Regions from separate parts of the Homo sapiens genome. Here region 2 is linked to region 1. The links are contacts of gene promoters, found by promoter capture Hi-C in blood cells and fetal thymus (Javierre and others, 2016). All regions are on one chromosome and are shown on one strand. The core of a region is centred on a gene start or on the middle of the fragment in contact, and the rest is flanking DNA. Distances in the headings are between cores, read along the strand shown.

Region 1 (6,926 bases), core at 2,239-4,738:
ATTGTCTGCTAAACCTTGAAATATAAAAAATCAAATGAATTTTCATCTCTCCTGGGAAAGACTCCTTGATGTACTTAAAAAGTTATAATGGCCGGGCACAGCGGCTCACGCCTGTAATCCCAGCACTTTGAGAGGCCAAGGTGGGCGGATCACAAGGTTTGGAGTTTGAGACCAGCCTGTCCAGTATGGTAAAACCCTGTCTCTACTAAAAATACACACACACACACACACACACACACACACACACACACACACACAAATTAGCCGGGTGTGGTAGTGCATGCCTGTAATCCCAGCTACTCGGGATGCTGAGGCAGGAGAATCACTTGAACCCGGGAGGCGGAGGTTGTGGTGAGCCAAGATAGCGCCATTGCACTCCAGCCTGGGCAACAAGAGCAAAACTCCATCTCAAAAAAAAAAAAAAAAAAAGTTATAATGATGGTTGGACAATTCAGATTTTTAAGTCATAAGTACTTCTTTATGATCACTGTGGAAAACAATGACCCATATATCTAATCTGGGTGTGTTTAATATTAAAGGTTCTCAAAAGGTATGTACCACTCTAATTTTCTAAAAGCTGTTAATCCAGTTAGCCCTTAGCCCTTTGCCTGGTAGTAGGTCACTTTAAAACTGAAATCACACTTATGCTCTCATTCAAATATTGTAACCAAGAATAAGCAGCAAGAATTTGGTATGTCAGGACAAAGTATACAGATGGTCCCCACCTTTCGATGGTTCAACTTATAATTTCTTGACTTTACAATGCTGCAAAAGTGACATGCATTTGGTAGCAACTGTACTGAGTGCCCATATAACCATTCTGTTTTTCACTTTCAGTGAAGTATTCATGAATTACATGAGGTATTTTGATACTTTATTGTAAAAGATGCTGTTAGATGATTTTGCCCAAATTTGGCTAATGTAAGTATTGTGAGCACGTTTAAGGTAGGTTAGGCTAAGCTACAATGTTTGGTAGGTACATTAAATGCATTTTTGACTTACAGTATTTTCGACTTACAATGAGTTTATCAGCACATAACCCCTTCATAAGCTGAGGAGCATCTGTATATACTAAGCTTTTAATTATGTTTCTGAATGTACAAATCTGCAATATATATGGATTTCATACACTAATGTGATCTTTCAAGTCCTTAAGTACAGTATATACAAATATTATAATTAATCACGATCTAAATTGATAGTTTGGATTCTACCTGCATACAAATTATGGCCAGGAAGGGAAGCATGGGTCATGCACAATCAGCTATCAGAGTGGAACTCGGCAGCTCACCACAGCACCCAATTCTTTTACTTTATTTATATGTGGTGCCTTTTCTTCAGATTAAATCCAACTTTCCTCCCCTGGCCTCTTATTGTTACACTGCAGACACCAACCTTATTTCTTCTGGCATAAAATCTTGTGGCTGCCTGAACATAACATTGTAAATGTTATGTATAGCAAAGTATTGGAAAATTCAATGAAAAGGATCACTTAAAAAGTCATGTAATAGAGAAATCTTGCTTTTTAAACTTTAAGCCTAATTACTTAGCTCAGCAGTGACTTGGCAGAGATCCAAAAGATTCTTCAGCTCTTCCCTGCTTCTCTGAGGCAAGTTTCCAGTAACCCCTGCCTTCCCCCATTAATACATATGTATCCAAAGTGCAAAAAGAAGGAATTTGTTAAAAAAAAAAAAAAAATCAGACTCTACTTTCCCATTGCAATGTTAAGTATATACATAAAACATTTCTACCAGCTTTCACTTTTTAGATGGGCTACTTTTTCAGCTGAGTGGTAGGACACCAAAATGGGAAGGAGAAGTCAATGTCATAGAGTATAAATAGCTGTGGCCAAAAACAATATTGCAGAAGAGCCAACAGGAGAAAGGCTCCCCAAAATGCAGCAGGAGTGACTTAATTCCACGTCTTCATAGAGACCTCAGGGAAAACCACTATCAAGAAACAAAAGAAGGGTGGAAGCAACCAGCACTCACATATGGTCTTACAGTGTTTTCTTGGGTTTCTGAAACACATACACATATATTTAAAGTCTCAGATAGTATGGCAATGAAAAGGAAACTGTTCTTTATGTATGTCATATAGAAAACGTTACCCAATAGGAACACGGTCTTTTCTTAGATATGCTGAAAACCACTCATGAATACCTAGGCGGATTTTTAGTTATACTTAACTTACTTGAGATAGAATTTGCAATTACATTACACGGCAAATCTAAATCTAAACCTCACCTTAAACGTTGGAATGTGTTCCTATCATGATTCATTACACACAATCCAAAGGACCAGTAATTTCCCACCACACTAGTTAAAACGTTTTAGATCAGTGGGCTAAATTGCATGGGGCACACAATTCACTTTCTAAATGTTTGCTAGACACTTCAAGATTGTCCTCAAGTGTTCGAAGTCAGTAAGTTTACCAATATTCTGTAGCGGAACACACACACGCACTCGTTAGGCATCAGCAGCATTTACAAAACGCAGGCAATCATAAAGTTATATAAGAAAAGCAGTCTCGCCTCTGAGGAATTAGTTCAGGCATACAAGAATCCAGGAAATCGCATATCCTCCATGCGAGGCTGGGTCACAAGAACTAGGTAAAGAAACAAAGCAAAGTGCACTGGGAAACGAGGGCAGTAACAGCTGAAAAGATGCAGGCAACGCCACCAGCGGCATCTTCAAGCATTCCTTCTGAAGGGGAGTGTTTCTATGTTGTTTCTAATGAGCCACTGCTGACCTGAGTAACGGTACAAGCTGAAACCAACACAACCAGAAACGAAATCCACCATGTGGTAGACGAGACTAGGGGAGCAGCACGAATGGTCCACAGGCTAGGGGTCCAGAAGCTGTCATACCATGGGACTCGCGCACACCCTGGAGCTGCCACCTGCTTTCTATTTCCTCGGGGAGGGCCGGTGACGCGTGAACCCGAGAGGCACCAAAGGCAGGAATCCTGAAATCTGTGATTTCTAAACCCCGAGCTAAAAAAAGGTCCGTAGGGCCCGTCTCCCGCAGCTGGGCGACTCTTCCCCACGCGGCGCGCGGCCCGCGAGGTGGAAGGGTGAGAACTTCTAGGGGGCCAAACGAGGACCAGGAGACAAGTGGGGAGCGGGAAGTGCCTGCCTGGTCCGAATGCAGGGAGTCCGAGGTCGCGGTGCCACCTCCCTGTGAGGGTAGGCTGGGGGCGGGGCCGCGCGGAGCCCAACAGCCAGGGGCCAAGCAGGGTAATCCCCCCGGGGCGAGGGCGGGCACGGGAGAAGAGGGACGCCCCGGCCGCTACCTGCTGCTGGATTTTCCCGTCCTCCGTGACGACCCAGTGCGTGGTGGCGAAGGCCCCTCGTGCCGCCACACTCAGCAAGGCGGAAAGGCTGAGGAGCCAGCCTGGGCCGGAGCAAGGCGGCAGCTCGTACCGGCCACGAACCCCTACTGCCGCCGCCATCTTGCCCCCCCGGCCGGGCCGCTCACACCGGAAGCGGAAGCTAGTCTCCGGCGCCCGCCATCTTGAAGAGGTCGGCCCTGGAGGAGGAGCAGGAGGAGGAGCCGAGAGGGCGTAGCTCGCTGACTACCAAGTTTCCTCCACCTCGGTTTTGGCGGCCAGGAAGCGCGACCTTCGGCTACTCTCCCAGCTTGGCTTCAGGGATGGAGACCGCTTTTTAGTTATTGTTTTTCTGTGGGTGATACGATCTCGGAGCGTGGGAACCGGAGGGAGACAAAAGCAGTGGCTTAGGTGGCGCTTAAGCAGAAGTGAAAGGACTCAATTTTATTGTTTTTTAAATCTTTGTTTTTTCGTTTTATTTCTGGTAGATAGTTGGGGAACAAAAGGTGTGCTTTCGAACCACCTATGGGAAGAGAGGTGTTGCTTTTATTCTTAAAGTCTCACAATAGTGGAAGCTTCAGAATGGAGACGGTTGTTAGTTTAGGGCACCGCTGTCCAGTAGCACTATAATGCGAGCCACGTGTGGAATGTAAAATATAGAGGGAAGTAACCCTACTAGTACATTTTATTTAACTCAAAGTACACAAAATATTAATTCAATGTGGTCTGTACAAATCATTGAGATAGTTTAGTTTTTTTTTTTTTAACTAAGTCTTGGAAATCGGCATGTTACACTGACAGCTTATCTAGTCATATTTCAGGGGCTTAATACCCGCATGTGGCTAACGTACTGGTCAGCACAGGTCTAAGCTAGAGGTCTAGGTCTGGAGACCAGAAACATTGGCATCACCTGGGAGCTTTTTAGACCTGCACATTCTCGGCTCTTCTCCCTCTCCCCCGCAACCTGCTGAATCAGACTACATTTTAACAATAGCCTCAGGTGACTGGTATACATATTAAAGTTTGAGAACCACTTTCTTCTAGTGAACCAACAGGCAGGCAGGCAGGCGTCAAGCTTGGCTGCCAGCTTCTTGCTAGATATGTCATTTTAGGTCTTTCAAGATTGCCCTCTGTGTGTGTTATTTAAGGTTGGTATGCTTTTGGTTTTCTCCTTGGGAAAAGAAGGATGAGAATATTGTTTAACCACTTCTCTACACAAGTGTATGCAGGAGAGCAGTTGCTAAGTGTTTAAACACCACGCTATAGAAATGTAGAAACAACCACAGCATTGGTGTTTTTTTTTTCTTCATTCCAGGAACAGCTTTTCTTAAAGGCCTGAAGACTGAACATTCATTTCATTAAAAATATATGGCTTATTTGCTTTTTGCCTGGTACTCTGATAGTCTCTGGGTATGGAAATGTAACCATTGGGCAGTGTGCAATATAGTGAGATATTATTGGCAGGTTAACAATTAAAATACAGGATAATGGGGGTGTATGAATGCATATGTACAGGAGAGAGCAACCAACCAGGTGAAAAAAAGGTTTGGAGCTCAGGTGCTGGTTCAGGCAGAATAATAAGTGAAAAGGTGAAGTTGGCCGGGCGCGGTGGCTCACGCCTGTAATCCCAGCACTTTGGGAGGCCGAGGTGGATGGATCACTGAGGTCAGGAGTTCAAGACTGGCCTGGCCAAGATGGTGAAACCCCGCCTCTACTAAAAATACAAAAATCAGCCGGGCATGGTGGCGGGCACCTGTAATTCCAGCTACTTGGGAGGCTGAGGCAGAGAATTGCTTGAACACGGGAGGCGGGGATTGCAGTGAGCCGAGATCACACCACTGCACTCCAGCCTAAGTGACAGAGCGAGAATCCGTCTCAAGAAACGAAAAGGTGAAGTCAGTGGCATGTTTTAAGAGTTTCTTGGAGTTTAGACATAGGCAATAGGGAGTGTTTCAGAATTTTAAAATAGAGAAGTGGCAAATGATGGAATCCCTTTTGTCTCAGCATCTTATTTTTGGGGCATAGAGGTCAACCCTATTTCTTGTGTATAAAGCTGACATCATCATCATCTAACATTTCTTGAGTGTTTAATACGTACTGGGTCCTGTACATGCATAGTTCCTATTAATCGTCACAACTTACCAAGCTCTGGCTAGTTAAGTAAGTTGGCCAAGATCATATTGCTAAGTGGTAGAGCTCAGGTTTGGACTCAGATCCACCTGACTCTAGATCTGAGAGCCTGAGAATGAATGAATGTTAGTGAGGAATTTGAGAAAGGCCCCAGCATCACATATTTTGCTATCAGCAATTTCTTTGACCTTCACAAGTTAACCTCTAAAGGGGTGGAATTATAGCTTCTATAGCTTTATTATACCACCTATTTTCTGTAGATGATAACTCTTATCTTTTGGGATCCTGTATTAGTTTTCTAATGCTGTGTAACAATTGCCACAAACTTAGCTTAACACATTATCTGACAGTTTCCTTGGGGCAAAAGTCTTCTGCTGTGGTGTGACTGAGTTCTCTGCTCAGTGTCACAAGGCTCATATCAAGGCTGCAATCTCATCTGAGGCTTGGGGTTCCTCAGTCAAGCTCATTCTTCAAGTCCTTGGCAGAATTCAATTTATTGCCAATGTAGGACTGAGGGCTCCATTTTCTTACTGGCTGCTGATTGTGGCCATTAACATTGAGGCTACCCACAGTTTTCTGCCATGTGGCTCTCACAATGGCAGTTATTCCTTGAAGGCAAGCAGAATATTTCCACTGCTGAAATCTCTTGAATTCCTCTATCTCTAAGCCTAGACTTAAAGGGCTCATGTGAGTTGATAAGGTCTATCTGAATAATATCCCTTTTTATTCAACTGATTAGTAACTTTAATGCCATCTGCAAAAATTTCGTTTGCCATATAACATTATCTTAGTCCATTTTGTGTTGTTATAACAGAATACCTAAAGCTGGGCAATTCATAAAGAAAAGAGGTTTAATTGGCTTATGATTCTGGTGGCTGAAAAGTCCAAGATTGGGCAGCCGCATCTGGTAAGGGCCTCACGCTGCTTCCACTTAGGGAGGAAAGCAGAAGGGGAGTGGGTGTGCATAGAGATCACATGTTGAGAGAAGCAGCAAGAGAGACAAATCAAGAAAGCCAAACTCTTTTAACAACCCACACTCGAGAACTAATTCATTCCTGAGAGAGCAAGAACTCACCTCCCCCCCCACCACCGTGAGGGCATTAATCTGTTCATGACAGATCCACCCCCATGACCCAGAAACCTTCCACTAGGCCCCATCTCCCAACACTGCCACATTGGGTACCAAATTTCAACATGAGTTTTGGCGGCCCTAACCACATCCAAACCTATGATCACAGGAGTGATATCGTATTCATGTTTTACCCACATAGTCAAGTTAGGAAATTTCCCCCTTTTCTACTCTATTAAGGTGAAATGGACAAAATTGTATATATTTAGTGTACAACATGATGTTTTAATATACGTAGGGGAGATTTTATGCGGGCAAGGACCATTGGGTATCATCTTAGAATTTTGCCTACCACAGATCTTGACTGCCAAGTACCATTCTTCTAGTCTTTCACTGA
Region 2 (6,787 bases), core at 2,952-5,451, 7.7 Mb after region 1:
AAAACAAATAACAGATATAAGGATTGAAAAGAAACAAACAAAAAGTATCTCTCTTCACACATAATACAATCAGGTATGTAGAATAAATCTACAGATAAATTATTAGGATATGTAAGATAATTCAGCAGATAGATCACAAAAAAACAATATATAAAAGTTAATCATATTCCTATATTCAATTAGAAAACAAAACTTAAAACCATTTATTTTTATTTTAGAGATAGGGTCTTGCCGTGTCGACCAGGCTGGAGGGAAATGGCAGGATCATAACTCACTGCAGCCTCAAACTCCTAGACTGAAGCAATCCTCCCACCTCAGCCTTCCATATAGCTGACAGGTGTGAGCCACTGTGCCTGGCTCATATTTTCTACAATATTATAAAATTATGAAGTATCTAGGAATAAATTTTACAATGATGTGAAAAATCTTTGAGGAAAAAAATATAAAACTTAACTGCGAAGCAATAAAAAAGACCTAAATTAATGAATCAGAAGACTTCATGTTGTAATGATATTAATTCTCCCTATATTGGCTTATAAATTTAATATCCAAATACACTCCTGCAGGCTTTTTAATACTATGATTCTAAGAAATGTAAAGTGCCAAAACTGGCCAACACACTCTTGTAGGACAAGATGGAAGGACCTGCTTTACCAGATATTAAGACATATTATAAAGGGATAACTGAGAAAACATGCTGTTCACACAGGGATATACTAACAGATAAACAGTAGAGAACAGAAGAACCAAGAAACACATTCACACATATTATGGGCACTTGATATATGACAGTGGGACAGCAAATCAGTGCACAAAGGAAGGGCTTTTCAATAAATACAGCAATAGCAATTGGCCATCTGTATGGAGAAAAAATGAAATTGCGCCCCTACTTCTACTACACAAAAATCAATACTAAGTAGAACAAGACACAAAAAGCACTAACCATAAGGAAAAGTATTGATAAGTTTTACCACATTAAAATGAAGAGCTTCTATTCAAGGCACAACTTCTTTAAAAAGAAAAACCACATAGAAGATATTTGCAACCCACATAGAAAGAACAACAAAAAAAATCAGAAACAAATATATAGCTGGGCACAGTGGCTAACACCTATAATCCCAACACTTTGGCAGGCAGATCACCTGAGGTCAGGAGTTCAAGACCAGCCTGGTCAACATGGCAAAAACATCTCTACTAAAAAAAAAATACAAAAATTAGCTAGGCATTGTGGCATGTGCCTGTAATCCCAGCTACTCAGATGGCTGAGGCAGGAGAATCGTTTGAACCTGGGAGGCGCAGGTTCCAGTGAGCTGAGATCTAGCCACTGTACTCCAGCCTGGGCAACAGAGCAAGACTCTATCTCAAAAAAAAAAAAAAAAAAAAAAAAAACAGATATATAAAAACTCATATAATGAGAAAAGACAACTCAATAGAAAAATGGGCAAAAGAACTGACTAGGTACTTCACAGAGGAAGTATAAAAGATCCTCAAAGTCATTAGTAATCAGAGGAATGAAAATTAAAACCACAATAAAATACCATTACATAGCCACAAGATTGACAAAAATGAAAAATACAGTAATAGCAAGTTTTGAAGATACAGAGCAACAGGAACTCTCATATACTCTTCATAGTGATTCAAACTGGTACAACCACTCTGGAAAATAGTTGGCAACATGTAGTATTACTGAAGATATGCATAGCCTCTGACACAGCAATTTCACTCCTGCGTTTATATTCCACTTAAATGTATGTTAAATGTACACCGAGACATGACCAAGAATATTTACACTGACATTGTTTGTAACAGCCCGACGCTCCCAAACCTGGGAACAAATCAAATGACCATCTATGACAGAATAGATAACTTGTGGCATATTCATAAAATGGAATTCGAAATAGTAATGAAAGTGAATAAACTACAGTCACTCATAGGATGACTCTCACAAACACAATGTTGAGAAAATGAAGCAAAACCCAGAAGAATGCATGATAAAAATATGACACCCATAGTGTCAAGTTCAAATAAGTTTAGGAATGCATACACATGGAGTAAAAGCATAAAGGTAAGCAAGGAAATGATCACAGAAGTCAAGATTATGCTTACTTATGCAGAAGAGAGATGGTTATAATTGGAAAAGGTATGGGGAAAAGGCTTCAATATTGCTAGTAATGTTCTATTTCTTAATCTGGATGGAGACTACCTCAGTACTTGTTTTATAATTATTTGTTAGACTGTAAGTTTTTACACACTTTCTGAATGTGCATTTTACAATTATAAATAGGCACTAAAAAAGGGAAAACCTAATACAGAGGATCTTCACTCTCAAGGTATTTGTTATCCCAATGCCAGCTATTCCCTATTCAGGGAAGCAAAAGTCATCATAATATGACAATGTTCACTAATACAGATTACTTAATGAACTGATCACTCCACTCAAAATTTCCCCCTCCCTCCCCGATTAACACCAGCAGTTTCTCTCAATGATAGTAAACATCCACAATATGAATAAAAGGTGCATCGTCTGCAAATTCATTCATTCAACAAATATTTCCGAAGTGTCCACTGTTCTGGGGGACCAGTAAGGTCCACGACAGACAAAGATCCAGACAGAGGACATGGGAACTTCCACTCCCACCCCAATTTGGCCTCCATCTTCTTACCCTCCTTTTCTACTAAGTTTCAAACACGAAGAATCTAAAATGAACTCGGGGCACATATGAAGTTACTATTAAAACTATTTTGTTAGTCTTTTCAATGCAGACGTATCACTTGCTTGGATTCATGTGGCAAAATCCTATTTCCCATGTTTTCAAGTAGGCAAAAAGATTGCCTTATCAAGAGCCCTAGCACAAAGCACCAGTTTCAACAATAGTGATGCTGTGGAAATTGGCCTAAGTGGGGTCAAAACTCCCAAGAAATGCTTTACCTGGGATCCACAGACCAGAAACTTGCAATTTTCTAGAAATTGTATACTAGATTTTGTGTGTATTTTCTCAGGTCAGAGTCCAGAACTTTCATCAGATTCTCAAAAGAGTTCAACCAAAAACGGTGAATAAGAACTGCTCCCAAAAAGTTGGAAAGACTAGCTTCTTAGGGACACAGTGAAAGCGAATGTGGTCACAGCCAGGCCACCTGAGTTGAAACCCAGGTGTCCTGACCCCTAGGTTTATGCTCTGAAGGCCCAATACTTACTCTTAATTCTTCAAAGGCTTCGTCTAGGGTGGAGAGTTGGTGGCCCTGGTGAGCCCCAATGACTGGACACAGGACACAGATGAGCTGCCTATCTTCCTGGCAATAGGTACTCAAATCAAGCCCATGGTCCGGACACTTCCTCTTGGCCACTCTCTCTGCTTCCATTTCTATTTCTGGGTCAAATTCACTTTCTGCCTCAGTTTCTCCCTCCGCCTCGGATTCCCCTTCTTCTTGGTTGTCTTCTTCGGCCTCGCTTTCTTGCTCATCCTCCATTTCTTCCTCGCTGTCTTCTTCACTCTCCTCATCGCTCTCATCCTCACTCTCTTCCTCTGTCTCGCTCTCTTCCTCTGACTCGCTCTCTTCCTCCGACTCACTCTCTTCCCCTGCCTCGCTTTCTATCTCCCTCTCCTGCTCCACCTTGACCTCCGCTTCTTCCTTCCCCGCCCCCTCTCCGTCAGCTGGCGGGGTCCAGGCCTGGGAGCCGTGGACGTATTCGGCCAGATGGTGACTGAGGAACTTCTGCCTGTGCGCCTCGGCATGGCGGCGGCAGTAGCAGAAGCCGCATTCTCGGCACACTTCCTCGGCCCCCGGAGCCTCGTCGGGCTCGCACTCGTCACACGTGCCGTCGTGAGGCAGTTCCTCGAAGGCCGCGCCCACTCCAGAGGCCATGTGGGTGCTGTGACGCGGCCAAGGCCTCGGGGCCCCGGGGCTCGCCGCCTTCCTTCCGCGCGGCCTCACTTCCTCCTCCCGCCCCGGGTCCCTTCCTAGGGAGTCGCCTCCCGCCTGGACCGCGCCGCGTCTCGAAGCGGGACCTGGGGCCGCGGCAGCCCCTGCCCGGGCGCAGCAGCAAAGACCCTTTCCGCCGGCTCGGCCTGCTCCGCTCTGTCCCTGCGCTTCCTCTGCCGCGCAAGGCACTTCCGGCGCGGCCACCCGGCGCCCCCGTCGGCCCCCGCGTCGCGCCGCCCGCTCAGCCTCCCGCTACCAGGGAGAGATCGCGGCAGCCGCCGGCCCCCGCGCCGCCCCGGTTCCACTTTCCCTTTCCCCGTCAGGAGGCCTCCTTTTACTTCCTGAGTCATTTAAAGTGGCAATGACCCTTTTCTGCTTTTCCCGCGGGGCTCAGCTCCTCCGCTCCAAATCTCAGCGTGCCTTGGAGGAGGAGGAGGGAGAAGGAGGATGGAGGAAGTCTCTTACTCTCTCCAGAAGCAGGAATTGGGCTCCACCTCCCCCATTCCCTCCCTGGAAGTGTCAACTTGAGTTTTCACGGCCACTAGGCTGGTGTCCCTGTGCATTTCAGTCTCTCTTGTGCCAATTTGTCGCCGCCCGTCACAGTCCCCAGTGTTCTGCAAGGTGCCCGGACAGTGTTGTTTACCAGACTGAACCTGACCTCTTGGGATTTCCTGAGTGCGGAAGGGCTATGTTTGTTCTAGGCTAGGGGAATTGGAGTTAGGATGAGCAAACAAATATTTTCGATCCAAAGCAATACTGTGCTTTGTCTATTTGCATTGCTACCTCCTAGGATCTCAGAATTTCTGGGGTGGTAACCTCTGTGCGGTTTTCTGAGAGCTGCCTTCGGTTGGGCAGAGACGTCAGGTGAAGTGAGGTGGGGAGAGGCAGTATTTGTCGAGTGACAGGTCCAGGTTGCAGTCATTTTCCTTTATGTAAGGTGTCCCTCTAGATTCCCACTGGGCTCTAAGAGAAAAGAAGGGAACTGTTGTTTATAAAGCAGTACTGTAGTGCCAAGAACCCGGCTACATCTTTTTGTGGCTCTTTAAAAGCCGGTTTTGGAAGATCCTCTGCCCGATGGTCCCCAAATCCTGGTGCCACTACCTATCAGTTTTATGACCATGGACAAGTTAATTCATCATTCTGTTTTCCGCTTTTTAAAAAAGATGTTAAGTGAAAAGAACGGTAAATATCTACCTCATGGGGTAGTTTTGTGGATTAAATGTAACGATGCCTGCACTGTAGAGTATTCACTAAGCTTTCATTATTATTTTTGGCACAAATTATATTTAGTGCTCACAATGCCCCTTTGAAGGAACATATTTTACACACACAGGGCATTTTCGGCTGGCTGCTGGTAATGTAGGCAAGTCTCCACCTCTACCCCATATCCATGTCTCTCCATTCACAGAAGAGTTTTTGTTTTGCACTGTATTTGGGAGAGGGAAAATTACGTTTTTATCTAGTCAAGGGAGAGGCTGAGGTGTATTAAGAAGGATGAAAGGGGATGGAATGGTGTCTGTTTTACATTGATTCCCTTAGATGATTTTGAGTTAGAATTTCCAGATGCTTTCCTCAAACATACCAGGGGATGAGGTGGGGTAAAAAAACCTTTTTAATAGTTTTTAATGTCTCCATGGATAATGTATGCCTAATCTTTGTGCAGCTTTTGTTAGATATTTATTTTTTAGAAACCTTTCTTTTTAACCTCAGAACAATTCTATACAATGTTGAAAAAAATCAGGTTTATTTTGTTCCAATTCCATACACATTTCTGTTTTCCCCCAGCTCATTTCTCTGGAAATTATTTCTGTGTCTGCTTTTGAAACATGAATTGAAGCACCATTCTGAAAAAAAAAATTCAACAAATGTCAACTCAAACATCAACGTTAATATACCTAATGAGAAGTGTGCCTTGCTTGGTTATTTCTACTCCTGTCCTCCCCCAGGCTTAAAAGGAAACAACTTAGCCTTTACAAACATAACGTTCTCACATTTAGAAAGTCTTTTATTCAATGAAAATAATTTTTATTTTTTTTATTTATTTTTTTTTTTGGTGACAGGGTCTCTCTCTGTTGCCCAGGCAGGAGTGCAGTGGTTCAATCACAGTTCACTGCAGCCTCAGCCTCTTGGGCTCAAGCAGTCCTCCCAAGTGCCTCCCAAGTAGCTAGGACCACAGGCGTGAGCCACTAAGCCCCACTACTTGTTTTGGTATTTTTTGTAGAGACGGGGTCTCACTATGTTGCCCAGACTGGTCTTGAACTCCTGGACTCAAGTGATCCTCCCACCTCAGGCTCCCAAAGTGCTGGGATTATAGGTGTGAGCCACAGGCCTGGCCTTTTTAATATCTTAAAAGGACATTGTTGTATCCAGGGTATTTGATGAGGGGAGGGGGAGTCATGTCATCATTATTGTTATTACTGTTTCTTCTTAATGTTATCTGACAGAAAGTTAAAATATAATACTGTGCAGTTCAGTATCTGACACTTTACAATTCTTCTTGAGCACTCTGTGGAGAAAGGGTCTTAGAGGCAGACAGATTAAACTTTTTTTTTTTAAGATGGAGTCTTGCTCTTTTGCCCAGGCTGGAGTGCGTTGGCACGATCTTGGCTCACTGCAACCTCTGCGTCCCGGGTTCAAGCGATTCTCCTGCCTCAGCCTCCCAAGTAGCTAGGATTACAGGTGTGTGCCACCATGCCCGGCTACCTTTAGTATTTTTAGTAGAGATGGGGTTTTGCCATGTTGCCCAGGTTGCTCTCGAACTCCTAGACTCAAGTGATCCACCAGCCTCGACCTCTCAAAGTTCTGGGATTACAGGTATGAACCACCACACCTGGCCAGATTAAACTATTAAAAAGGGACTCCATAA

What was found. The method cuts DNA at HindIII sites, captures the fragments that hold promoters and counts their contacts. A CHiCAGO score of 5 or more calls a contact.
Region 2: the fragment with the promoter of TRIM44 here is called in contact with the fragment with the promoter of TTC17 in region 1 in 2 of 17 cell types (non-activated CD4 T cells and total CD4 T cells); the score reaches 6.5 in non-activated CD4 T cells.

What each region holds. Positions count from the first base shown.
Region 1 is chr11:43,355,482-43,362,407 of GRCh38, reverse strand. It overlaps TTC17 (tetratricopeptide repeat domain 17), which reads right to left and starts at 3,488. Exons shown (of 24, transcript NM_018259.6): 1 at 3,295-3,488. The coding sequence starts at 3,453. RefSeq lists a silencer at 3,150-3,229 and an enhancer at 3,360-3,629. The HindIII fragment of the contact is 2,829 bases long and covers 1,079-3,907 here.
Region 2 is chr11:35,660,189-35,666,975 of GRCh38, reverse strand. It overlaps TRIM44 (tripartite motif containing 44), which reads right to left and starts at 4,201. Exons shown (of 5, transcript NM_017583.6): 1 at 3,196-4,201. The coding sequence starts at 3,864. RefSeq lists enhancers at 3,513-4,013, 4,225-4,544 and a silencer at 3,805-4,184. The HindIII fragment of the contact is 12,326 bases long and covers 1-5,178 here.